Linked DNA regions of Homo sapiens: region 2 is linked to region 1. Evidence: promoter capture Hi-C in human tissues and cell types (Jung and others, 2019). All regions are on one chromosome and are shown on one strand. The core of a region is centred on a gene start or on the middle of the fragment in contact, and the rest is flanking DNA. Distances in the headings are between cores, read along the strand shown.

Region 1 (2,700 bases), core at 172-2,671:
AGAATCGCTTGAACTCGAGAGGCGGAGGTTGCAGGATCGCGCCACTGCACTGCACTCCATCCTGGGCGACAGAGCAAACTGTCTCAAAAGAAAAAAAAATCATTTATCACTAAATTTACTCACCAAAAGAACTTGCAAAAAAAAAACCCAAAACCCTACTGCCTAAAATATATTTTAAAACGTATTTGTGTTTAAGCAGCATATATCTTTTGATAAATAATGACGCATGGTAGCTAACTAGTAAAGATGCAGCTTTCATATTAGCCACGCCCATCCCTCTCTCCGCCCTCCACAAGCACGTCCCCGCAAGCGCGCAGGAACATACACGCGTACGCGCGCACACACACGTACACACGCGCGCGCCCGCGAACACATACATACAAGCAGGCGCGCCCAAACGCCGGCAGCACACAGGCGCGCACGCGCTTTTCAGGACTCAGGAAATGCGCTTTCTGCTCCCCGCGCCCGGTAGAGCTAATGCAGGGAAGTTTCTGGGAACATTCGACCAGCGTTTGTATTGGTGAGGTTCCAAGTTTCCTTTAAAATGATATGACTCCGCCCTTCTCCAAAACCGTTTGAGGAGAAATGGAAAAGGTTGGGCGTGGAGGTGAAAAGGAGCCCTGTTGTCAACTGGTCCGTACTCCACCTCAGGAGGCGGCCAACTTGGTGCGCCCAAGAATAAAAACATTTCCCTTGTAAGAACATGCAAGTGTTTAGAAACGCCCCCCCACCCCCCCGCAAGGCGTTTGTGAGGGGGACCTGTCACAGTTGAGAAGTCAGGATGGGCGTTTTCCTCCCAGGAGGTGCCCTATTAATTTGCGGCCTCGATAGTTGGTCAAGCCGGGATGTTAGCTGCGGAACCTCCAGGACCGAAGAGCGCCAATTCTCCTGAGTTCTCCTTGGTTTGGGTTTCCCACAAAAGAGTGGTCACACCAAAAACTCTGTCTCCACAAATGCGAAACGGGCTCGAAACTTTTTTTTCCCCACACGATCACTTCCCACACCACTCCCATCCCTTTATGTTTCGCCTCAGGAGTCGAGGAACTTCTCTGAAAACCAATTCTACGATATTCCAGCAGCTAAACACAGCCCGAATTCCCTAGAAACAGAGAGAGCGAGAGAAAACACTGTAAACCCCAATCACACGCTCCTGTTTTCCCGGTACTGAAAAAAAAAAAAAAAAAAAAAAGTGGGTCCGTGGCCGCGCTATGCATGCTAGGATTAGTAGTTCCTCCGTCCCTCATGGCGCGGGGTCAGGGCGGAGCTCAGGTTGACTCTGCAGCAGAGAACTACAATTCCCATGGGGCCGCGCGGCAGAAAGAAAGGGGCGGGACGGGAGGGGGCGCGTCGCGCTTGCGCAGGTCCCGGGGCCGGAGGGAGGCGGAGGCGTAGCGGTCCAACTGCTGAAGTCCCCATGTGACAGTGAGCGGGGTCCCCGCTCCAGGAGACGCTCGAGTCTGCGTCCCGGCCCTCAGCACTGTCCACTGTTTCGGTGCCAGCAGAGACCAGCAGGCCCGGGACAGTTGGTGTTTGGCCGTGCCGCTGTCTAACTTGGTGTGCAGAGTGAATTGCCGCTGCCGGAGCGGAGAGAGGCGGAGCGGCCAGGAGAGAGGGGATTTCTGTCAGCGCCGGCCTCGGGAGCTCGGAGACATGAACGGCTTCACGCCTGACGAGATGAGCCGCGGCGGGGATGCGGCCGCCGCAGTGGCCGCAGTGGTCGCTGCCGCGGCCGCCGCCGCCTCGGCGGGGAACGGGACCGGCGCGGGCACCGGGGCTGAGGTGCCGGGCGCGGGGGCGGTCTCAGCGGCTGGGCCCCCGGGGGCGGCCGGGCCGGGCCCCGGGCAACTGTGCTGCCTGCGGGAGGATGGTGAGCGGTGCGGCCGGGCGGCAGGCAACGCCAGCTTCAGCAAGAGGATCCAGAAGAGCATCTCCCAGAAGAAGGTGAAGATCGAGCTGGATAAGAGCGTAAGTAAACCGCGGGACCGCCCTGCCCTCCCGCCCCTCGGTGGGGCCCCAGGAGCCGGGCAAAGGCACGGGTTGTCGGCGGGGTCCCCCAGACAACCGCACTGGCTGCAGTGCGGTCTCGTGGAGTCTGTGTTTGGAAGCAAATAACAAAGTCGCTGCAACTCCTACCGCCACCCCAACACACACACCACACACAGGCTGTCGTTCCCCTCTTCTTTCCCACCCTGGCCCCCAACCTCCCGCTGCCTGCGTCTCTCCCGCGCAGTCTTCCCTCTTCCTTCTCCTCTGCGACCGGGACACGAAACAAAGGGGACCGGCGCACTGAGGGCCCAGAGTAGTTTTCTTGCAGCCCGGCAGCTCTTCTGGAATGGAGGCGCCTTTGTTTTGCTGCCCAAGCTGGTGTTTGGCCCCAGGCGGTACTAAATCCCGTCGTCTAGGAGAAAGCGGAGGACCTTCACGAACAAGGAAGATCCTGTTCTTTTCTGTGTTCCGTCTCCTCCGGAGCGGAGTGAGAGGGAAGCCGAGCTCACCCGCCGCCTGGCAGTGAGCCGGGGTTGTAAACGGCGTTTGCGCTGTCAGCTCCGAGGGCAGCTACTCCGATGGTGGGGAGCACGTAGCCTCTGCGGTTTTGCCATCCCCTTGGCAGCCATCAGGATTTTTTGCACGTCTTTTCGTTTGACCATCTATGAGGTTTTTAGAAACAGCCGTTGCTACTTTTGGGAGATCTGGCTAGCG
Region 2 (2,700 bases), core at 90-2,589, 85 kb before region 1:
TACAAGTTTTGCTGAAGAGTAGGTCAGCATCGTAAGAAAACCTTGTTGTGCTTTTATTTCAAAGTTTAATTTACAGAAAAAAATATATAATACCCTTTTGAATTTAGTCAATATGTTCACACACATAGTTTCCTTTGCAAGATTAATATTTACAGTCTTTTCACAATTTGCTTAAACCTTCTGCTTTATTTTATCTAATTTAAGACAATCCTTTATCTCTAGGCAAAATGGACATTTCCATGCCTTCTTATAATCTTTTAACTAAAAACACATTTTGCTGTTTTTACACACCTTGCATGCAAATCCATGTTCAGTAGTCTCAATTACATGTCATAATGGTAACTCTTAGCGATTTTTAACTTTAATGTAAAGCCTGGTAAGTTGTTTTAATTATGTGCTAGATGCAGATAAAGTCTGATTCCTTTCAGCGTAGTTAGGAGCATGGTCACTTCTATTTGTTCCCAGACCATACTAATTGTGAAGCAGGCAAGTTGACAGTTTTTAAAAGGCCAAAGAAGCAGTTTGCAACCTTAAAACATTTAGCAAAGCTAGTATCTGACCTGCATAATAAATTAGACCACATTTTTACACCTTGAAGACGTTTGTATTTTACCAATAATTCTTGTCTGTTTTTATTTTAAATATTAAAGTCATATGAACTGAAAGGTACCACAGCTTTTACTTTTACTGCAAAATATTTTATTTCAGTGCTTATTATTCTTAGGCCAATTAATTGGCCTTTTTATAGACTTCACATATATATCACATGTATGACTACACAGACAGACAGAAGAAGATCCAGCAGCTCAGGGTGGAGCCCTTTTACGAACAGGGGTATGAATATAGTTTTCAGGGCTTAATAAACAAGCACAGCCAGAAGACAAAGACAGATGTTGAGAGGGGCTTATCCACCTCTAATTCCAGGGGTTCCATGAGGAAAACAGGGATTTCTCCAAAATGGGATTTGTGGCACCTTAATCTATTTCCCAGGGAGTCCCAGGCCACCAGAAGTCATTCTAGGGTCTTTCACGTATGCATCAAGAATGATAAGACACAGTGGAAAAAAGTAATTCAGTTGACTGAAAAAAAACAACAACAACAAAAAACCTTTTCCAGAAAAACAAGATCTATGAAGAGAAAAACATAAAGGCCTTTTACATATACCCATAGCTCGGATATCCACTTTGAGGTAAGCTGAGCATTCTTTAAGAAAATCCTTTCTCATTAATTAAAATTTTACAGAGAATGTAAACAGTGATCTTCATCATTCCTTTTACTGGTTTGCACCACTACCTTTTCACAATCATGTTCAAGTTCTCCAGTTTCCTTTGGGAGAAAATGGCTCGGCTCTAGCAAGGGCAGGTTTTCCTCTGGACCACAGATCCCTCCAGTAGCAAAGCTTGATAGTTAAGGAGGCGATTGTCTGTTAGCCAGGGACTTTCCTTAGAGGGCAGCACTCCTGCTATATTGTATGGGTTGTAAACAGTTGTTTCCCATGGGTAACCCAGTGGCCTCTGGCACCAACAAAGCTGCCATTGTAACTGCTTAGAGGCAGGCTAACCAGCCTTTAGCCACCAAGTTAAGTTCCTCACTTAGGTAACCCACTGGCTGTTGAGCTGGACCTCAAGCTTCAGCCAGAATTCCCAGGGCCATTTCCTTCTTTTCTGAAGCATAGAGACTGAATGCTTTTCCTTTGGGAAGACTGGGGGTTGATGCTTTAAGTAAGGCTTGCTTTAGTTGGTTAAAGGCAGGTTCCCAAGTTAGTGAGTGAGTTTTAACTGCTTGAGTTTCGTTATGAGGTGGTATAAAGGGCAAGCTATTTCACGGTATCCAGGTACACACAGTCTGCAAAATCCACTAATGCCTAAGAATCCCCTCAACTGTTAAAGGAAATGGGCATCCTTTCTTCACCTGATGCTCTAGTCCCTTCTGATAAGACTAGACCTAGGTACTTTACTGAAGTCTGACAGAGCCAAGCTTTAGATTTTCAGACCCTATATCCCCTTTCAGCTAAGAAACTGAAGAGAGCCTCAGTGCCTCCCTGAGACTTCCTTGGTTGGGGGACAGAGGAGAGTGTTATTTATGTACTGCAAAGTTTCAACTCGAGGGTGAGAAAAATTAGATCTTTGGACAGGGCCTGTTTCAGCAACTTTCTTCCCATATTAAGGGCTGTCTGAGTAATAAACCTGTTCTTTATTGAATAAAAAGGTTTAAAGATTTTTATTTAGCTTTTGGACTATCATGGAAAGCTTGGAAGAGTTAATAGGTTTGGCTCTAATCCCCTGCAAGTTCTCCAATATACACATTTGAAAGAGTTTCCTTCCCCATTTTCTGATGCTATCATCATGGTCCCATTTATGGTCCTCCAAGGGCACTGGTATTTTCCCCACTTGCTTCTCCATCCCTGGAACATCCAGGAGAGTTTAAATACTTGGGTTAAATCTTGGAAGGCCTCTATACGGCAGTGAAGTTGGGGCTTGCCCCGAGTGAACTTTAGGGTCTGAGGACTAAAGGAGATCCAGGCTGCACTCAGGGGTAGTGCAGACTTGAAGATGGGGTGTTATCCATGTAGAAAAGAGGCAAGAGAAGAGGCATCCCTCAGTCTCCTTCTCTTCAGAGTGACCCAAGATGGAGGGAAAGGCTGGAGGGGCATCCCCCTTCACCCCCTTCCTCCCGTCCTTTGGGTCCCAGTGACCATCC

What was found. Contacts are between HindIII fragments. The study calls those that stand out against the background at their distance.
Region 2: a fragment that was not itself captured here is called in contact with the fragment with the promoter of SAP30 in region 1 in 4 of the 25 tissues and cell types used here (aorta, mesenchymal stem cells, mesendoderm cells and 1 more).

The regions. Positions count from the first base shown.
Region 1 is chr4:173,369,533-173,372,232 of GRCh38, forward strand. SAP30 (Sin3A associated protein 30) reads left to right here and starts at 1,422. Exons shown (of 4, transcript NM_003864.4): 1 at 1,422-1,965. The coding sequence starts at 1,651. It overlaps SAP30-DT (SAP30 divergent transcript), which reads right to left and starts at 1,166. Exons shown (of 4, transcript NR_183973.1): 1 at 760-1,166; 2 at 1-78. RefSeq lists enhancers at 643-882, 1,966-2,529, 2,233-2,532 and silencers at 1,283-1,452, 1,733-2,112. The HindIII fragment of the contact is 15,433 bases long and covers 1-2,700 here.
Region 2 is chr4:173,284,931-173,287,630 of GRCh38, forward strand. The region is part of intron 2 of GALNT7 (polypeptide N-acetylgalactosaminyltransferase 7); the gene reads left to right. LOC124900812 (a long non-coding RNA gene) reads right to left here. Exons shown (of 3, transcript XR_007058367.1): 1 at 1-2,700. Among named protein-coding and RNA genes, the nearest start is that of MIR548T, 18 kb to the left of the region's middle. The HindIII fragment of the contact is 4,128 bases long and covers 1-2,700 here.